Regions from separate parts of the Homo sapiens genome. Here all the other regions are linked to region 2. Evidence: promoter capture Hi-C in 16 types of primary human blood cells and fetal thymus (Javierre and others, 2016). All regions are on one chromosome and are shown on one strand. Each heading gives the region's core, a stretch centred on a gene start or on the middle of the fragment in contact. The rest is flanking DNA. Distances are from core to core; before and after follow the strand shown. Region 1 overlaps SPAST (spastin). Region 2 holds the start of BIRC6 (baculoviral IAP repeat containing 6). Region 3 overlaps NLRC4 (NLR family CARD domain containing 4).

Region 1 (2,940 bases), core at 372-2,871, 230 kb after region 2:
CTGCGCCTGGCACAATGCTTCCTTTTTAAGTCTTCAAAGTCAGGTCACATCTGAGGTAAAATATTCAGTTCTTATCTAGGCATACTGACAAACTGGCATGAGACCATAGAAAGACAACTAAAATAGTAACTATTCTGGGGACTGGAGGGAAGCAGATATAACATTAAGTTCCTATATATTTGAAAGGCTGTCTCATAAAAAAAAAAAAAGATTGAGTTTTGTTAAATCAAGTATGTAAAAATTAGAAAAAGCAGATTTCAGTTAGACATAAGGAAAAAATTGTATTAGATAGAACTGACAAAATGATAGACTAGACATTTCAATTTTCTTTTTCTTTTCTTTTTTTGAGATGGGATCTCACTCTGCCACCCAGGCTGGAGTACAGTGGCATGATCTCTCGGCTCACAGCAAACTCCACCTCCCAAGCTCAAGAAATCCTCCCACTTCAGTCTCCCAAGTGGCTGGGACCACAGGCACACGCCACCACGCCCGACTAATTTTTTGTATTTCTGGTAGAGACAGGGTTTCGCCATGTTGCCCAGCCTGGTCTTGAACTCCTGAGCTCAAGTGATCCACCTGCCTTGGCCTCCCAAAGTGCTGGGATTACAGGCATGAGCCACCACACCTAGCCTCAACTTTCTTAAAAGTAAACTTACTTCAAGATATTCAGGCAGTATCAGAATTGGGGGTTAAGATCATGAATGCTATGTTGTTTCTGAAAACATGAAGATGAAACAGTACTCTTGAAAAAAGTATGGATAAAAGAGAATGGTTGCTGTAGGCCGGGTGTGGTGGCTTACGCCTATAATCCAGCACTTTGGGAGGTAGATGCGGGCGGATCACAAGGTCAGGAGATCGAGACCATCCTGGCCAACATGGTGAAACCCCGTCTCTACTAAAATACAAAAATTAGCCAAGTGTCGTGGCGGGTGCCTGTAGTCCCAGCTACTCAGCAGGCTAAGGCAGGGGGATCACTTGAACCCGGGAGGCAGAGGCTGCAGTGAGCCGAGATCACGCCACTGCACTCCAGAGCAAGACTCCATCTCAAAAAAAAAAAAAAAAAAAAAGAGAATGGTTGCTGTAATATTTTTAATGAAAGGCCACACTCACTGGAGCTCAAATCCTAGTTTCCCACTTCCTGGTTATGAGATCCTGAGCAGATCACTGAATTCTGTAATTCCCTAATTAATAAAATAGAGCTATGAGAATAATATCTATACCTCATTATGATTACTCCACAAATATTTATTCAATACCTACTCACAGCCAACTACTGAAAATTGAAGTGAAGAACACATGGTGATAGTCTCTGCCCGCATGGAGACCATCTTCTAGTGGAGGTGACAGTGATATCAGATACAATTAAAATAATCCTATCAATGAATATGAATTGCAACTCCAGTGAGTATGAAAATGAGGTGCAAGTGGTGCTAGGAGAATAATAACGGGGAATAGTTTGGAGGGTCAGGGAAGGTTGTAACATTTCAACTGGTATCTGAAGAATAAGTACAAATTAACCAGGAGAAGATAGTGTTCCTGAGAAAGGAAACTCCATGAAGAGGAATCCCATGACAGGAAAAAGCATAATAATATTTGAAGAACTGCCTAAGGAAGAGGGAGTCTTAGCAAACAGACTTCAAAAACTATGGGTCCAACACCAAGGCTATCTCTATCATAGTGATGGAGGCTACTTTAGTCCAATGCCATAACAACTATGGTCAACATGTCAAGTTTGCTTTAACTCACTGCTCATTATACAACCTTACAAATAAGTTTCCCATACATGTCTATAGGTACAGGGAGAGAACATGCTGTTCATAGCAGCTAGACAATTCTGATCTCATGTCTGTTCCGAAGACATAGATCTGCTCTTGGTGTACTGATAAAATCAAGTTTCTCTCGCTGCAAAACTGTAGACAGTAAAATTATCCTTTGAGCCTCTCATGGAAAGAGGCTATCTGGATATCATGTGGTGATCACCTCTGGATTCACCTCTGGATTTTTTTTTTTTTTTTTTTTTGAGACAGAGTCTCACTCAGTTGCCCAGGCTGGAGTGCAGTGGTGCCATCTCGGCTCACTGCAACCTCTGCCTCCTGGGTTCGAGCAATTCTCGTGTCTCAGCCTCCCGAATAGCTGGGATTACAGGCGCACACCACCAAGTCTGGCTAATTTTTGTATTTTTAGTCGAGACGGGGTTTTGCAATGTTGGCCAGGCTGGTTTTGAACTCCTGACCTCAGGTGATCTGCCAGCCTTGGCTTCCCAAAGTGCTGGGATTACAGGCGTGAGCCACCACACCTGGCCTCACCTCTGGATTTCGGTGCAACAAATGCTGACACTTCAAACTTTTACAGGTAACATGTTCTTTCATCAGAGATTCACATTTCAGTTTAAGTATGTTTGCCAAAACACTTTCAACCATAAAAGTTTGTTTTGTTTTGTTTTTGAGACGTGGTCTTGCTCTGACGCCCAGGTTGGAATGCATTGGCATGATCGTGGCTCACTGCAACCTCAACCTCCTTGACTCAAGTGATCCTCCCACCTCAGCCTCCTGATTTGCTGGGACCACGTATTCGCTGGCATGTCCAGCTAAATTTTTTATTTTTTGTAGAGATGGGGGTCTCACTATGTTGCCCAGGGTGGTATTGAACTCCTGGCCTCAAGCAATCCTCCTGCCTCAGTCTCCCAAAGTACTGGGATTACAGGAGTTAGCCACCATGCCCCCCCTTGTTTTGTTTCTTTGAGACAGGGTCTCACACTGTCACTCAGGCTGGAGTGCAGTGGCATGATCACAGTTCACTGCAGCCTCAACCTCTCAGGCTCAAGAGATCCTCTCGCCTCAGCTTCCTGAGTAGCTGGGACTACAGGTGCATGCCACCACACCTGGCTCTATTTTTTATTTTTGGAAGAGATGGGGTTTCACCATGTTGCCTAGGCTGGTC
Region 2 (3,387 bases), core at 59-2,558:
TCTCCTCCAATGGTGAGACTCAGACACACCTTCAAATCCTAATTTTCGGCTCGCTGTGGGAAAACAAGTAGAGACAGCCTGAAGTTACAAACCCAAAGGAATCTATTTCATACACCACAGGTCCTGACTTTCTCGTCACTGGGGCGTAGAAGTTGGAAGCCCCGAGCAAGGGGACCAGGTCTAGTCGTCTTCGGCGTCCGCAGAGTCCTACAGTCGTCGACCAAGCAGTTCAGGCAGCTGGCCCGCCTACTTCCCTCCCCACCCCCACCACGACCCACCCCACCCCCACCCCACCCCCACCCCCACGCTGGGCGCACAGCCCGCGGTCTGTCCCCCGCACTGCGGGACCTGAGAACAGCAGACTGCCGGCTCCTCTCCCACAAGGGAGGGCTTGGTTGCCGGCTCAGACGCTCCCCGCCCCTCGCCTCCGGCCACCAGCCTCTCCGCCCGGGGTCAACCCTTCCAGCCTTTCGCTCTCATCTAACCGGACGCAGGACCGACAGCCTCTCCAGGGCCTACCCGGGCCTCGCTTCCTCCGGTGCCAAGCTCCAAGGTCTCCTCACCTCTCGCGGAGGACCAAGCCAGACCGGACGCTCCAGGCCCGAAAGGCAACTCCCCTCCCACCACTCCCTGACTCGCCGGTCTTTCCTCCCAACTGCAGCCGCTGAAAAAGCCAAGTCCTAAGGTCCCCCTCCATCAGCTTCCGGGCCTCCCTTCACGGCTGGGCCCGAACCCCCAGCCCTGCCCTCTCGCCATCTCGCTTCCCCGAGTCGCGAGGCCGAGCCCCGGGGCTGGACGGCTTCTTTCCCCGGCTTCGCGCCCGCCCGGCGTGCGGAAGACTCACCACTGAGCGCGGAGGCCTGCAGTGTGGCCCCCGAGGTGCCGTCGATGACTTTGATGGTCCCGCGGCTAGTGACGGCCAGGATGGCGTTGAGCGCAGGGTGGTAGGACAGGCTGTGCAGCCCGTCGGCGTCGCAGTGCATGCAGCCGTCCCGCAGCACCAGCCACTCTGAGACCCCGGCCGCCCCCGCCCCCGCCGCCGAGGAGCAGCCGGGGCCCGAGGCCGCCGCAGCCGCAGCCGCCATCTTCCGGCCTGCGCTCAGCACAATCACACTGGGAAGCGGCTCAGTGACAGTCCCGGGAGGTGCAGCACCACCACCAGTCACCATCCGGGGCCAGGGGGCAAGCCGAGCGCGTTAGCCGGAAGTGAAGTCAGGCGCCCGCACGCACGCGGAACGTCGATCGCCCGGCCGGAGGGGCCAAACTCGGAGGGAGGCTGACGGGAGAGGGGGAGAAGCAGGGAGGGAGGCGGGGCCCGGGGCGCGGGCTGGAGGCCGGCGGGTGGAGCATGCGCGGGAGGGCTCGCGCGTGCCACGCGCCGCGGGTCTGGCCAGTTCCGCGTCCGCAGCGTCCCAGTTTCTTCCTGTGAGCCTGGGGAGTGGCGGCTGCCGAGTCCGCCCCGCTCCTCGCGGGGGCAGGGGGAGGGGTTGGCCTCCGTGCATTTCCGCTAGGTGGGGACCCCCGCCCTTGCGACCTGTCCGGTACGCCCGGAGGCCTTTTGCAGCGGTTCCAGCTGCGCCTTGACCGTTCCCGGTACGCACGGTGCAGCTGTTCGGCCGTGGCCGGAAGCGGACCTCTGGGTCTCGGTCACGGCTCTGGTGTGAGAATAAACAATCAGAAGCCTCTCGTTTGGATTGGAAGGAACCGAGCGACCTTCCCAAACCTGTACCTTTTACCACGCCTGCCCTCCCCATTCCCAAGGCTTTCTGTTGAACAGAAGTACCAGATACGAGGTGCTGGAAGCGCATAGTTAAGCTTAGTTTCTCTATCCACATTCCAAACAACCCGAGTTACCGGAATTAATAGGAGTGTGGGTCTGTGTGAGTGTGTGGTGGGGTGTGTTGGAGGTCTAGAAAGGACTAATCAATTTACTAATCATCCCCCCTTGGAGAATTTTTTTAAAACTTTTTATTTTGAAATAGATTACAGTTGAAAATATACTACAGACCTCTGTGGTCTTTCTCTCCAAAAGCCATAACCCCTATCTAACTATGAGAAAACCATTTGACAAACCCAAACTGTAGGACATTATTTTTATAAAATACCTAAACACTACTCAAAGATAGTACAGAGAGATCCAATTTACTCTTTACCCAGTTTCCCCCAATGGTTGCATATTACATAATTCTAGTACAATCTCAAAAGGAGGGATTTGATAGTTGTATGATGTGTGTATAGTTCAATGTCATTTTATCACATGTAGACCTACGCACCATAGTCAAGATGCAGAGTTGTATGTTCTATATGTTTTGTGATCATTAGGTTATTTTGGAAAGAACTAGTTTTCCTTAAAAACCTAATCAAAGATCTGTTGTGAGGATTAAGAATCATTTGTAAAATGTGTAGAAGAGCATCTGACAAGTATATACTACGTGCTCAATAAAAATTATAAAAGTTAATTGCCCTCTCACATTCATGCGAACTTCCTTCAGGAAATCTTCATGGATTACCTGAACTACATCTTAAACTATTAGCCATCAGGCTACATCTGAAACACTTAGAGATTTGACTGTATTCCTCTCTTCTTGGGGGTCCCTAAAATACACTGAAGTTCCTGGGCCTGCCAGAGAGTGACATTCCTTACTCATCTGTGGTTCTTTTTTTTTTTTTTTTTTGGCTTTTTTGTTTGTTTTTGTTTGTTTATTGAGACGGAGTCTCACTCCGTCGCCCAGGCTGGAGTGCAGTGGCGTGATCTCAGCTCACTACAACTTCTGCCTCTTGGATTCAAGCAATTCTCGGCCTCAGCCTCCTGAATAGCTGGGATTACAGGCACCTGCCACCACGCCTGGCTAATTTTTTTTTTTTTTTTTTTTTGTATTTTTAGTAGAGATGGGGTTTCACCATCTTGGCCAGGTTGGTATTGAACTCCTGATCTCGTGATCCACCTGCCTCGGCCTCCCAAAGTGCTGGGATTACAGGTGTGAGCCCCCGCGCCCGGCCACTCAGGCCACTCACCTGTAAGTCTGGGAACAATCAGGCCAGTTTTTCAAACGAAGACTTTATTGGCTCCATAAAGTCAACCATAGCTCCTTAATGCCATCTGGTCATGTTTGAAAATATGACATTCCAGTCAAAACCTGGTTAATACAACCAGTGCCTCCAATTATGTCTTGTTACAGGAGAACACATTTTTATAGAAATTATGCAAATAACTATATTGCCATAAAAATAGGAATACTTGGCCGGGTGCGGTGACTCATACCTGTAATCCTAGCACTTTGACTAGCCTGGCCAACATAGTGAAAGCCCATCTCTACTAAAAATAGAAAAAAATGAGCCGGGCCTGGTGGCGGGCACCTGTAGTCCCAGCTACTAGGGAGGCAGAGG
Region 3 (3,166 bases), core at 497-2,996, 130 kb after region 2:
TGTGGGAGGCTGTTGTCAAATGTCTGATAATCCTGCACTGTCCTCTTCACATTTTAGAGGGAGACACAAGTTGATAGGGAGTTCTGTGTGTCTAAGGGAGGCGGTGAATTTTTGACAGGCTAACTCCACTAGGGGGTGATTGGGCAAGCAAAATGGCCCCTTCTTTGTAGGGCCTTTTCCCGGGGGGCAGTTCCATTTCTCCTAAGAATCCTCCAGTCTTCCTCCTGGAGCATATAAGCCCAATTGCAAGTGTTCTGGGAACAAAGTGGAGTGGGAAAGCCTATTGCTTTTGTGTGCTCCCAGGGTACCCTGACCTACCATAGCACCCACCACCCATCTAATTACTTTATAATGCATGTCTTCACACTATTTTGTAAGCCCATTTAGACAGGGACCATGTCTGTCGTTTACACATATCCCCAGCACCCAGCATAATCCGCAGCACATAGTAGCACTAAAGATGTTGCTGAATGAATAAACAGTGAGAACTCTGGTACTCGTTCAGGTGAACTACAGGACAACACAAATGAAGAGTTGTGTTTGGGATACAGGAACCCCCAAGAATCAGAACCCTTCTACCCAGGGCATCTGAGATTTTTCCTGGAATTCCAATCAAGCCATTTGCACTCTCCACAGCCCACATACAGCCTATGGCTCTAAATGTCATGGATTCTGTTTCTCTTGGATCTAGTCTGCTCCTCATAACATAAGCACTGCAGATTAAATGAACAAAAGGCATGCCCTTGGCTTATGACAAATGTTGTTTGTTCTTGGTTCCTGCACTAGCACACATTCCAATAATTATCTAAGAAACTCTCTTAAATTGATGATAAGATCCTTATACCTTAGTAGATAACCACTATAAATTGCTCACCCTGTGAGGGTGGAATGGGCTTTAAATTCTTCTTAAATTCCTTTTAGGTGGTGAAAATATGTTCTGCTAGCTGAGAAGGAGAAAAAAAGTTGATCTTTGGGGAAAGAGCCTTAAATAGACACACAACTGGCAACCAGCATTTGGACTGAGTGCATGCCATGCTGGGAAGCATATGGAGAAGGGGCAAAGGCAGAAAGGACATGAACATGAGATGGAAGAGAGAGCAGGGAGAAAGCCATCCTCCAAGGAACAGAGGAGGTGGAAGGCAGGGGAAAGTAAGGACCTAGGTACTATTTGGGCTGGGCATAGGCTACGCTGTGATAACAGAGACCCAACTATACCATGGCTTACAGAAGGCAGAACTTGATTCTCTATCATGTAACAGTCCAGAAATGAGCAGTCCAGGCAGGTGGGGTGGTTTTCCTCTGTGCAGTCTTTCAGGCCCAGACCCCTACTTTTTTTTTTTACTCCTCTATTCCTTAAGAGTGTTATTTTTGACTTTATGGCCATAGCTAGGTCACTGCCCTGTGATCATTTCAACCTAGTAGAAGAGGGGAAAAGCGGAAAAGTGACATGGAAGTTGCACACATCACTTCTGCCTATACTTCCTTGGCAAAAATTTAGCCACACCTAATAGCAAGGGAGGTTGGGATATGAGTGGCCATATGCCGAAATAAAACTCTATTAACTATGGAATAAGGAGAGACAGTTTTGGGAACAACTAGCAGTCTGTCTCACTTTTCTTCTCTTTTTTTTTTTGAAATGGAGTTTCACTCGTTACCCAGGCTGGAGTGCAATGGTGTGATCTCTGCTCACCGCAACCTCTGCCTCCTGGGTTCAAGTGATCCTCCTGCCTCAGCCTCCCGAATAGCTGGGATTACAGGCATGCACCACCACGCCTGGCTAATTCTGTATTTTTACTAGAGACGGGGTTTCTCCATGTTGGTCAGGCTGGTCTCAAACTCCTGACCTCAGGTGATCTGCCCGCCTTGGCCTCCCAAAGTGCTGGGATTATAGGCATGAGCCACCGCACCCGGCCTCTGTCTCACTTTTCAAATTAATAAAAGTGGCAAAGAAGGCCCAAAGATGGTGTCAGTGACACTGACCATGGGTAAGAGACATGAAGGCAGAACCCTGTGAATCATCTCCTTACCTGGCTTTGCCCACTTTAGCCGCTAGCATCTTGACCACGGTCAGGCAGGGCCAATCACTTTAGGTGTCTGTAAAGAAGAACCTGAAGACCTTTCGAAACTCAAGACCTTATGATGGTGATAAAAGCATTGGCTGACATTGACTAAGGACACACTCTAGAATGTACTTAGTTGCACTGAACAAACTACACAAGGCCATGCAGTGACATCAGACACCAAATTCACAGATCTCCTCTCACTACGGAGCTGGTAAACACCTTTACTGAAAGTGGGTAAGGGTATAGTTTCAGTGCATAACTAGGTTGACCTCACCCACGTAAGCTGGTCGGACAAGACTGTCCATTTCTGTCATTAAGCCCTCATTACTGGTAGCAGATACCTTTTAGTCTTTGCTTGCTAACCTTAAGGTTGTACAGCACCGAATCTTTCCTTCTTTAACTTGAACTCTTTAGTGGTCTTCTCACTGAGACAATGGAAAGGAACTTTTAAAACCTCTTTTCCTACTTGGAATCCAAACTGAATCATGGACCTTCATTTCCATAAGGGTCAGTTTCTGGAACATTATCTAATATTACACATCTCCCAAGAAACACAAGTTTAATATACAACAAATTAACCCTCCAAAGTTGGGTGAGGTACACTAAGACTAAGATGAGCTCGGATGAGCCGAGTAATGTGGATTGATAAACCAGGCATACATCTTCTGCATTTTGTGTGTGATACTCTGGAGTATAAACATGTAAGTAAGAGTTCCCATGTCCAGTCTGCCTGTCTGTCCACTCTGTACTTCAAGGTGAACTTAGTCATCCAGAAAGGGCCAGGTAGGTGGGTAGGGCTAACGCTTTGCACAATTTAATATGTGTAATTAACACAGAGCTAGTTTTGTGAAATCCTAATGTTGTATACTGGCCAATCTGTATGATGGTAAATAACCTGAAAGAAAGGTATTTTTTCTTATTGCAAGACTCACTTGGGTTCCAGTACCACCTAAACTGGTAACATGGGATAAAGAATGAACACTAAACTATTTGTGTATGTATACACACACACACACACACACACACACACACACACACATCCTTTGTATGTATGTGTGTGTGTGTGCATTCTTTGTGTATCAGAAAGACAGGATATCCACCTA

Evidence for each region. The method cuts DNA at HindIII sites, captures the fragments that hold promoters and counts their contacts. A CHiCAGO score of 5 or more calls a contact.
Region 1: a contact is called between a fragment that was not itself captured here and the fragment with the promoter of BIRC6 in region 2, in 1 of 17 cell types (monocytes). The highest score is 6.1, in monocytes.
Region 3: a fragment that was not itself captured here is called in contact with the fragment with the promoter of BIRC6 in region 2 in 1 of 17 cell types (M2 macrophages); the score reaches 5.0 in M2 macrophages.

What each region holds. Positions count from the first base shown.
Region 1 is chr2:32,129,799-32,132,738 of GRCh38, reverse strand. All of the region lies in intron 9 of SPAST (spastin), which reads right to left. Among named protein-coding and RNA genes, the nearest start is that of SLC30A6-DT, 34 kb to the left of the region's middle. The HindIII fragment of the contact is 3,991 bases long and covers 1-2,940 here.
Region 2 is chr2:32,354,944-32,358,330 of GRCh38, reverse strand. BIRC6 (baculoviral IAP repeat containing 6) reads right to left here and starts at 1,308. Exons shown (of 74, transcript NM_016252.4): 1 at 845-1,308. The coding sequence starts at 1,169. RefSeq lists enhancers at 98-610, 1,125-1,637 and silencers at 862-1,091, 1,252-1,621. The HindIII fragment of the contact is 6,861 bases long and covers 1-1,817 here.
Region 3 is chr2:32,225,346-32,228,511 of GRCh38, reverse strand. All of the region lies in intron 8 of NLRC4 (NLR family CARD domain containing 4), which reads left to right. Among named protein-coding and RNA genes, the nearest start is that of NLRC4, 38 kb to the left of the region's middle. The HindIII fragment of the contact is 5,652 bases long and covers 1-3,166 here.